Linked DNA regions of Homo sapiens: regions 1, 2 and 4 are each linked to region 3. The links are contacts of gene promoters, found by promoter capture Hi-C in blood cells and fetal thymus (Javierre and others, 2016). All regions are on one chromosome and are shown on one strand. Each heading gives the region's core, a stretch centred on a gene start or on the middle of the fragment in contact. The rest is flanking DNA. Distances are from core to core; before and after follow the strand shown. Region 1 overlaps RCAN2 (regulator of calcineurin 2). Region 2 holds the start of ENPP4 (ectonucleotide pyrophosphatase/phosphodiesterase 4). Region 3 holds the start of ADGRF1 (adhesion G protein-coupled receptor F1). Region 4 overlaps RCAN2 (regulator of calcineurin 2).

Region 1 (2,700 bases), core at 106-2,605, 630 kb before region 3:
TGAAAGACAGATGCTAGGCACTGCCACTAGGACTCTTAGTGCATTGACCAAGATTTGGCTACAGATTCCTGCCACCCAAACGGAGCAAAGCTGCCAGCCCACAAAGAGAAGGAACCCAGCTCCTTGGCCTCTCTGCCTTGGTTCTCTATCTGACTGAGTTATCCAACCACCATGAATACCAGACAATAAGGAATAATAATTTAAAAAAAACTGGTTAGAGGCTTGGCAAGGAAACAAAAATTTCTATTTGTTTTGTTTTTATTTTTATTTTTCCAACAGGAGATAGTTTGGCCAAGAAAAATATCATCCTTCCATGGATGCCTGGTATCCTGTTTACTCCTACACATTGTTCTTACATGTCAGAAAATGAAGTATGAGCTAAGGAAAGGCCAGTCATTAAATAAAATGCTGGGTCTTGGGAGACATTTTAGGGTATATAAATTTCATAGAGACATATCAAACTGCAAAAACCAAATGAAGATCATTTGCCACTATCTAAGATGTGTTTTTAAATTATACTAATAAAATAGATTCCATATATACTGATTTACTTGAAGGAAAATGTTGTTTTTCCCTTAGGAGTCTTTAGGGGAAGACACAAATATTAACAATTCTGTTTAAAGAAACGAAATGGTCTAACATGATTTCTCAAGGTTCTCATTTAACCACCGAGTTCCATAGATACACTTTCTTTTGAATAAAATTGTACAGGTATATATGAAAGCAATAACTAAAAATCACATTTAGTAAGTATGGAAGGGTTATATAACCAAATCAGAAATATAATACTGAACTTATTTTTACATTATTATTCACCTTTCAAAGTTTTATTAATTCCTTCATGAACTTTAAATACCACTTAACCCATTTTGGCAGCAGTTAAATTAATGTTTTCAATTGACTTTTGTGGGATCACATTTCTAATACACAAACTATATATACATACACTAGACTCTCCATGTTCATTCCACATTGTCAAGAGAGTACAGGCCAAGAAAGGCATCTGCAGTTTGCAACCATGAAAGTACTAGATCACTTTTTCCAATATATCTTCATCTATAACAGGCTCTTAAATGCACCACTCATTCATTAGTTCATTATGTACATTATGAGCAGAGAGCCTGCTGAGTGCCAGGAACTATGCCAACATTTTACTATTTCCTCCATCATACATTCTTTTAATTCTTTTCTGTACATAAACGTTCATAAAATACTTTTGATCAAAGTTTTGATATATGAGTTTGATATGAGATATATCGTGTGATAGTTAATTTTAGGTGTTAATTTAACTGAACTAAGGGATGCCCAGATAGCTGGAAAGGCATTATTTCTTATTATGCCTGTGAGGGTGTTTCCAGAAGAGACTGGCATTTGAAATCAGTGGGCTTAGGAATATCTGCTGTCACCAACATGGGCAGGTACTATCCAATCAGCTGGAGGTCAGACAGAACAAAAGGCAAAGGAAAGGTGATTTTGTTTTCTCTCTCTCTCTCTCTCCTGGAGCAGGGACACTCTTCTTCTCCTACCCTTGGACATCAGAACTCCAGCTCTCCAGCCTTAGAATTCTGGTATTTGCACCAGTGACCCTCTAGGGTCTTTGGGCTTAGACTAAAAGTCTAGGCCTTTGGGCTTAGACTAAAAGTTATACCATTAGTTTCCCTGGTTCTGGGGCCTTCTGACTTGAACTGAGCCATGCTACTAGCATCCCAGGTTCTCCAATTTGCAGAAGGTCCATCATGGGACTTAGCCTTCATCATTGCTAAGCTAATTTCCTTAATAAATCCCCACTCATTCATCCATCTATCTACCTACCTACGTACCTTTCCTACTGGTTCCGACTTTCTGGAGAACACTGACTAACATATATCAATAATAGACCCTATTTTCAATCGTACATTTGAAGTAGATTAGGACATGGTAAAAAAAGGTAACCAGGATTGGTGAGAAAAATTCAGAGCAGGAAACAACAAGTGAAGTATTTGACATCGTCTTTCTCCACCTTCTGGCCACAAGGCAAAAAGGCATGTCTGAGAAATAATTGTTACATAACTACTGGAAACAGCTCTTAAAATGGAAATCTTTTGCCTGTTACTATTCTAATATTTACAGAATGTCTATTCTAGGCGAGGTTCCAGATTAGAAACTGGCCCATAGGAATAACCTGCAGGAAATATGCTTTTCTTATTTTGTGAAAAAAATCCCATCTTATAACAGCAAATCTTCTTTGAACTACTCAAAAACACATTAATAATATTATTTCAAAAATATTCAGTTTTAACAAGGATGATATTATATTAAGCTATCTATCAATTTCAAAGCCCTTTTATATCCATGATTATGGTTATCCTGACAACAGACTGAAAAGCCTTTTGCCATGCACCAGCATGGTGGGCAGCAGGGAAAGAACAGGCTTGGGAGGGAGGCAGGTCCAAGTTTGCCCATCAACAACCCCATTTCTTCACCATGTGACCCTTAACAAACACTTAGCCTTCAAAAGTGCTCACTTATTTCAAATATCAAATAGTGAGAGAAGAACTTACAGTTTCTGGGAAGATCATATAGAATAGCCGATAGCATATAGTATACAGAGCCCATACAGGGATGAATGGATAAGCAAAATGTGTCATATACCTATGATGGAATATTATTCAGCCTTAAGAGGAAGGAAAATCTGACACACGTTACAACATGGATGAACCC
Region 2 (2,754 bases), core at 41-2,540, 910 kb before region 3:
GTGACAGAGTGAGTATTCAAACCAGGTTCTAGGGTCTGCAGGTTCTAGGGATTCAGCTACAGACCCACTACCATCCCCTCCAGCTCTGAAAGCCCATGGATCTAAGATGCCCATATTCACCAATGCACAGGCCAACCTGAGACTTAAAACTGGAATTAATTTATCAAGGCACAAACTAATAATCAACGGAATACATCTATTGCCAAATCATCTCCATGGCTGCTTCCAGATTGTTGGTAATAGCTATACTGTAAGGTTCAGACCAAGGGGACCAACGTCAGAATTTGTTATCTAAGGTCCAGTACTGCAGTTTACTAATCCAGGTACTGGATTTACAGCTATTAAATACTTAACACTTGAGGATATCACATGTGATTAATATTCTTAATTTATTTGTACTTTTTATTTGAGCTGGAGATACAGTAGTGAACAAGAAAGAAAATACCTTCTGGAGCCTGCATTTTAACAAGCGGGACAATTAAATTCAATAGTGATTTAGCAAGTACTTCTATACCAAGTTCTGTTTGGCACTACAGATAAAAAGAAAAAAGATGCTATCCTCTCACTGCCAAGTGTGCCTGGACAACCCAACTGTTAGCGAATAATTCTACTTCTGTTTGGTAACTGCTCTTTATGTTGGAAAGTTTAGTTACATTATTCTATTAAATAACCTTCCAATTAAAAGCAGGAGCACAATCCCACATACGCGTCTGTCAAAGTAAGCACCCATTTCTCAGCTGTAACTCATTACTGGTTCCCTGCCGCAGGCACTGTGCTGCTTTTAACCTTACTTGTAAACTATTACCTAACTTCCCCGGTAAAGGTGCTCGCTTATCCAGTAAGACGGACAGACGTCTATGGTAGATCCACGTTTCATTTATCCCAACTCACTGGAACTGGCTGAAGCTTCTCCAGACTTGTGCCGGACCTTGGTGCAGCCAAAGTTGCTTTCTCCGCGGCCACCTAAGCTGCCAGGTGCACATTAACTAAGTGGCAGAAGGCCATCGGCTTGGCAATTGCCTGAGGCCTTTCCGGGACTCGCTGGTTTTTAGGTTCCATGAAGGGCATCCAGATCTAGGATGATACGAAAAGTGCGTGGTGGGAGAGTGGAATCAACCTCTACTCTTAGGTCCGATACAACCCCTCCAAGCACCTGTCTAACCAATCGGAAAGAAAGTTACATTCAACGCTGGTTCTAGCATCCAATCCAAGGACGTGTTTCAGACTCTGCTGCCCGGTCCCAGCCAGCCCTGAGCTGGCGCCTTAGACGCTCGCCTGGCAGCTGCGCACACTCGGAGCGCCCCGAGCGGCGCAGATAGGGACGTTGGGGCTGTGCCCCGCGGCGCGGCGCCTGCCACTGCGCAGGCGCCTCAGGAAGAGCTCGGCATCGCCCCTCTTCCTCCAGGTCCCCCTTCCCCGCAACTTCCCACGAGTGCCAGGTGCCGCGAGCGCCGAGTTCCGCGCATTGGAAAGAAGCGACCGCGGCGGCTGGTGAGTACGCGCCTCGCGCGCTCGGCGTTCTGGGGGGCAATGTCACCCCCTCTCCAGTCCCCTAGGGGCTTTGAAAATAGAGATGGTGAGACCAGACCCTATGACCCACTCTCCCCCACTACACGCACATCCCCTGGGGCGCGGCGGGGACGTCCACGAAGGGACTCAAAGAGCCAGGGAGGTGGCGGGCCGAGGCGGAGGCCAGGAAGGGAAGAGGAAAGAAAAATTAGCAGGTGCTGGGGAAGGCAACCTGTGGTGTTAAGTGTGAAGGGAGGGAAGTCAGCCGAACGGTAGTGGAGGAACCTAAGGTGGGTCTGGGGTAAAATTGAGGGGAGCTGGGGCGGGGTCGCCAGGCTTTTGGTTTTAAAGGAGAACCACCCATGGCATCGACATCCGTCTGTCTGAATATTAGATTAGAGTTTATGTTAATTATAGATAATGATATTTAAGAACTAATTTCCTGGAAAACAAGCCAACCAAACAATAAAAGGTACATTTAAGTGCCTTTTTAAAGGGCTGGATTAAAAGCACGTAAGGACTTAAAAACAATGCTTCCTTTTCTTGTCACAACCACCCTATGAGATCATAGCATTCCCATTTTACAGATGACGAAAGTCAGGCTCAGAGAAGTGAAGGGACGCGTCCAACCAAGATTGTACAACTAGTGACAGGCAGATTCAGGTTTACACCAGATCTGACTCCAGAAGGGCTTTGCTTAATCAGGCAATCTTGTGGACCCAAGTCTGAAGGAAGATTTGCCAACTACTGTGAAATATCAACTGCTGGTTTCAGTATTATGAGCTTCTATTTCTTCTTTTTTCCCCTCAGAGATTGTTTCAATCTGTTTTAAGGAAATTAAGAGGCCTGCTGCACTTGTGCGTCTTCCCCCCACCTCCACTTAAATTAGTTACAGGATATAATTTGGAAGACATTTTTTTTTATGGTCTCAGGTCTTAGATTTATTTATTTATTAATTATTATTATTATACCTTAAGTTTTAGGGTACATGTGCACAATGTGCAGGTTAGTTACATATGTATATATGTGCCATGCTGGTGCGCTGCACCCACTAACCCATCATCTAGCATTAGGTATATCTCCCAATGCCATCCCTCCCCCTTCCCCCCACCCCACAACAGTCCCCAGAGTGTGATGTTCCCCTTCCTGTGTCCATGTGTTCTCATTGTTCAATTCCCACCTATGAGTGAGAATATGCAGTGTTTGGTTTTTTGTTCTTGCGATAGTTTACTGAGAATGGATTTC
Region 3 (2,700 bases), core at 77-2,576:
TGTGCACAAAAGGTGAGTTTGCAAGTTGAGCTTGTCAGACTCCACAGGCATACACTCCTATTTCCAATCTTAACGCTTATTGGCACCATTTTACAAATGAAATAACCAGGATAAGACAACTAAATAATTTGCTCAATGTTTTACTACTTGTCAAAGGTTGAATAAAGTATTATGGGACCATTATTAGAACACTGTTGTCAATTTGGGTTATGGTTAGATAATGAGTGGTGTTTTCTTAATGACAACAGAGCATAATAAAAGGCTTGTGTTAATATTCTAACATATTAAAGAATGTACTTTTATTTATTTTTTGTTATTCTTGCCTCTGTTTGTAATTTCCAGCCCATGAATGCTATTATCAAGTTGAGCTTAATGGATCTCAGCATGAAAAAGCCAAGGTCATCACTTCTCCACACCTCTCCCACCTTGACCTTCTTTCTATATCTCCTTCGGTATTTTTCCTTCATGTAGTCTCTGGCATGGTACATTACATAGGCTATCAGGTTTACATAAATGGATTTTTCATGAAAACAAAGAAAAGAGAAAAGAAAAATTATATATTTTCAAGGCCTCTACTAAGAAAATACAGTGTGACATTTTATATTTATTTGGGGAAGTAGCAGGAGAAATGGTTAGTCAATTCTAGGGTTTTTTGGAGTCCTGGGAAGGAGTTAAATTGAGAAGTACTTCCTGGATATATATGGATCCAGGCAAAGCTTAAACTAATTCACCCTAAAGGAAAAATAAGCTTAATTCTCTCAAGCATAATTTTATTTTAAGAGATTGCAAGGGTTAACGTATTATGAATTAGTGAAAACCATATGACTGATACTTTAACAAGTATCTTTGGTGGAGCCCTTTTTATTCTAGGCAATCTACCTCCCTGGCACATCAGAACAATGGGGTTCCTGTGTTATCACAGAGGGAAGAGTGTGCTTTCAGTCAGAAAATCTGGAGCTTGAGCCTCAGCCAATCACCTCATTATAGTTAGTAAGCGGGTTGAAATCTGTTGTTTCTGCTCATTGCTTTTTCAACTCTGTTCCCTTATTTAACCATCTTCAGGAAATGATACATTGAAATCAGAATTTTTTTTTCAAGGAGAGAAAAAATAATCTCAGATTAACAGGTAGTACTGGTCATCGTAATACACGTTCTTAGTAATCAAAGTACAGTTATTGGGCTTACCTGGTGATTTATCTCTTCACACCAGAACTCGAGGGAGCCCTTCCTTCAGTATACTTGTGGCTCAATCACTTCTTATGCTGTTTGGAAAGAAAGTATCAGTATCTGAGCCACAGCAGCTCACTGGCATGAACACAGGCTCACTGATCCATCAGCAATTCCTGGCACGCATTACTGCCTGTGCAGGTAGACAAGCCTGGGACACACCCCCTTCAAGAAGGAAACAAAATACTTTTCTCCTAACTCCCCCTCCCGCTTAAAGTCACTATCAGGTCTGGTAAGAGGAAGGAGCACAGAGCTCAAGACTTAATGATTCTCCCAGCAGACATAAATGGGTGTCTGAAATCACAGAAGGGAAATGGGAGAGAAAAGCTCTAGGGGAATGTGGAACACTTTTGCCCTAGATCGGTTTACTACAAAATGCTACTCCATCAAATCTTCCTGTCCAACCTCTGAACACACTGGGTCATACCCTATAAAGCTGAAGGAATGCAGCCCTTCATGCATAATTCCAATGAGGAGAGGTGGGTAATTCCTGTGGGGCAGAAATAAGGGTAGATACTGTTTTTCCTTTTCCAACTTTTTTATTTAAGACTAAAGAATCAACTAGCTACTTTCCCAGATAAAACAACCTCAGACTTCTGGGTGGGGTAGTACCAAAGGAGCTGTGGCAAAAGACAGCAACAGGGTGGATGCTGGGGTGAATGCTTTTGGTGTGTTTTTTGTGCTTAGAAAACCTAGAGTGAAACCTGATTAACTTCTTTAGTAAAGATTTGTTTTCTTTCCAAGGAGTCATCCAGTTTGAAAACTATGAAAGGTCAAGATTATTATGTGCTGTATCTTTAGCCACATTGGCTCATAAATTACTTTTGGTCAAGGTAATGAGCTACTAACAACCACGTCTAAATTAGCAATTTGTAATTCTGTTATGGAATAATGAAGGGGATAATAATATGTTAATTCTCAAAAATGCCACTGAAAAGAAAGCAAAGGATGTCTCTGAATTCAATTAATTTATTAATTTTCTTTTGTTTCTTTTAAGCACTCCACGTTTTACAAATGACTTGAGCTGGCTTACAATGTTAATGCATAAAATAAAATAGTGTGAGAATAAAAATTTTAAAATCATTATAAAACCTCTATATAAACTATAAAAAAGGAAACTATAAAGAGTCAATTAAGAAAAGTGATGCAAATAATAATCCCTGAAATTATTGTTTCATAAATTTGAAACTTATCTCTAGGACAGAACTTCCTAACAGTTAAAGAAAAGGGGAAGCTAGTCAGGTACACTGTTCTCACAATCAGGAAAGAGGAAGCATCTATGTTTTCATGAAAGAGTAAGTAAATTCTAATAGAAACATCTTTTTTAGAGTGAACAATATTCCCGTCAACATTTGAGCTTCTAATTGCATGTTGAAGACCTTTAGTGCTATGTGGGCCTAAACCCAGTATGACCCACTTGTCTTCCACACCAGCTGGGCCACTGATCCCTATCATACTTAACATGATTGGGTC
Region 4 (2,758 bases), core at 97-2,596, 620 kb before region 3:
CACTTCGCAATAGCTTTAACTCTGGAAGTTTGTTCAGATAGAGGCTAATTACTTCTTTCTTTCTTTTTTTTTTTTTTTTTTTTGAGACAGAGTCTCACCTTGTCACCCAGGCCGGAGTGCAGTGACACAATCTTGGCTCACTGCAACCTCTGTCTCCCGGGTTCAAGCGATTCTCCTGCCTCAGCCTACTGAGTAGCTAGGACTACAGGTGCCCACCACCATGCCCAGCTAATTTTTGTAGTTTCAGTAAAGACAGGGTTTCACCATGTTGGTCAGGCTGGTCTCAAATTTCTGACCTCAGATGATCCACCCCCCTCAGCTTCCCAAAGTGCTGGGATTACAGGCATGAGCCACCATGCCCAGCTGACTGATTACTTCTTTAAAAGGTGTGTTAACATTTCCTTCCCACAGAAATTTAATTATTCTTTTATTGCTATTTTAAATGAATATTTTCGCAGAATGTTTCTAAACATAGATAAAATGATTTCACAATTGCATTTCATTATGTATAATAGACCTTCTCTAGGTTTTACTTTCAGTGTTCCTGTAATAAAATTATTATTAAAGACACAGGAATTTTTGGATAAATGTTAATTCTTTTCATCATCAAGCAGTTTTTAAAAAGACAAGCAATTTTACCGCTTTTAGTACTAATCACTTTAATTAATCTGCATGGGAAAATAGTAGGCAGCTGAACACTGTATTCCATAGATATTTTTGAATGAGAGGAACAGCTGGCTATGCAAATACATACAGGTAAATGAATGAGCCCTAAATCTTAGAATGAAAAACTAAAATGCCTTCATGATACAAAACAGATCTAGCATACAAGAAGGGGAAATAAAACATAAATTCATGGGTAAAGAAGAAGGTATTTTTTACTGAACATCTACTGTGTAAACAGATCAGGTGTTCAATAAAACTGTGCTGTGAAAAGCCCACTTATACACTTAAAAAGAGTATAACACAGAGAGAAGCATGGAGTGTTTAAGTAACTTGCTCAAGGTCACACAGCTAGCAAGTGGTAGAGATGAGATTTGAACTCTGGCAGACTTTTAGCAAGTAGAGGATAGGGTTTAAGTAGCAAACCTGTATGTGAATCCTTTTACTAACTTATTAAATATGTGACCTCAAGAAAGTTACTTTGCTTCTCTAAATAGAAGGCAGATAACAATGATCCTCCCTCCTAGGGTCATTGGGAATAATATGGAAGAAAGAGTCTTATTAGGAGGGTAAGAGAGGGGTCTATATTATCAGGATAGTTTTCTGCATCTCTGAAATAATTTTAAATGTTTTGAATAACTGGAATTTAGAATGACCCATGTAAAACAAAATTTTAGGAAAATTATATGAATCCTTATAAAAACTATACAGTTAATACCTTAAAAACCACATTATCATCTCTTACTTTGTTCACTTAGTGTGCCATAGGAACTGTTATTTATTCTTCTCAGCAGTCCAGCTTACTGGTTACATGCATGGGCTTTAGAAACAGACCTTTTAGGCCCACATCCCTAGTTGACCTTGGATTAGTTAGTTACTGACCTTCAATTTCCTCATCAGTAAATGGATGTAAGTATTAGTACCTTTCCCATTGCATAGTTATTAAAGTTAAATAAGATTATACATGTAAAATAATTAAAATCATGCCAGGAATATAGTGTTCAGAACTCAACAAATTTAGCAACTATCTTTCATCTAATTGTTTCTCAAGGGCTTGGGGCATAACAAGACTGGGTAAAATGTGTATTGAGTAAATAAATAATGACATACCTATCAGATTAATACACTAATGAACATTCTCATTGCTTTCTGACATCCTGCTCTCTTAACCCGGATTCTGAGTCACATGACCTCGCATGCAATATAGCTGTATTGACATACAACCATCAGAGGGCTTTGCATTTTCAAAAGAAACGAGAGAAACCAACAGATAGACAATTCAAACTTTCAAGCAATCCAAGCGTAAGTTTATGGCAGACATTGTCTGTTGATTCCACATAAGTGATTTCTTTCTTCTCCCTTGATGAGAGCCTTGATTTACTAAGGACCACGTTTCAGCTACAGGATGAATCTGTTATGGCTAAGCTAGGACCACATTTCAGCTACAGGATGAATCTGTTAGGGCTAAGCTAGGACCACAATTCAGCTACAGGATGAATCTGTGAGGGCTAAGCTAGGACCACAATTCAGCTACAGGGTGAATCTGTGAGGGCTAAGCTAGGACCACAATTCAGCTACAGGATGAATCTGTTAGGGCTAAGCTAGGACCACATTTCAGCTACAGGATGAATCTGTTAGGGCTAAGCTAGGCCTGGTTGTCCTATTCCTCTCAGATAGATGCTTGTTTTTCCAGGCTCTTTTGCATCTAAGGGTACCAGCCAATGAGAGGTAAGTGAAGATTCACTGGGGCTAGGGAGTACTCGTTCTGCCAAATATTTTTACTCCCTGATCAAAGAATATAAGAATGATGCCAAAAAAAAAGTCCCTCACCACAGCAGCGTCACCTTGTAGTATTTATTCCCACTGAAAATCACATTATGTATTTTTTTATGTGTTCATCATTTCTCTCCATGAGATGATATGCACCATGAGTAATGGTATAGTTTATGCATTATTCATGGTACTTTGAACAGTAAACATAGTTGGAACTCAATAAATATCTGCTAAATGAATAAATAAATGATCTGACTGGGATTTTCTTTGGAGCAATGGCTTAGAATTTCCAGAGAAGAATCTCCAGTCTCTGACCTGGAAA

The links. The method cuts DNA at HindIII sites, captures the fragments that hold promoters and counts their contacts. A CHiCAGO score of 5 or more calls a contact.
Region 1: a contact is called between a fragment that was not itself captured here and the fragment with the promoter of ADGRF1 in region 3, in 1 of 17 cell types (M2 macrophages). The highest score is 5.6, in M2 macrophages.
Region 2: the fragment with the promoter of ENPP4 here is called in contact with the fragment with the promoter of ADGRF1 in region 3 in 1 of 17 cell types (M1 macrophages); the score reaches 5.4 in M1 macrophages.
Region 4: a contact is called between a fragment that was not itself captured here and the fragment with the promoter of ADGRF1 in region 3, in 2 of 17 cell types (M2 macrophages and M1 macrophages). The highest score is 5.8, in M2 macrophages.

What each region holds. Positions count from the first base shown.
Region 1 is chr6:46,408,533-46,411,232 of GRCh38, forward strand. The region is part of intron 2 of RCAN2 (regulator of calcineurin 2); the gene reads right to left. Among named protein-coding and RNA genes, the nearest start is that of RCAN2, 82 kb to the right of the region's middle. The HindIII fragment of the contact is 9,133 bases long and covers 1-2,700 here.
Region 2 is chr6:46,128,699-46,131,452 of GRCh38, forward strand. ENPP4 (ectonucleotide pyrophosphatase/phosphodiesterase 4) reads left to right here and starts at 1,291. Exons shown (of 4, transcript NM_014936.5): 1 at 1,291-1,491. It also overlaps a transcript of CLIC5 not described here. The HindIII fragment of the contact is 7,807 bases long and covers 905-2,754 here.
Region 3 is chr6:47,041,006-47,043,705 of GRCh38, forward strand. It overlaps ADGRF1 (adhesion G protein-coupled receptor F1), which reads right to left and starts at 1,327. Exons shown (of 15, transcript NM_153840.4): 1 at 1,186-1,327. The HindIII fragment of the contact is 2,028 bases long and covers 747-2,700 here.
Region 4 is chr6:46,425,834-46,428,591 of GRCh38, forward strand. The region is part of intron 2 of RCAN2 (regulator of calcineurin 2); the gene reads right to left. Among named protein-coding and RNA genes, the nearest start is that of RCAN2, 64 kb to the right of the region's middle. The HindIII fragment of the contact is 5,753 bases long and covers 1-2,758 here.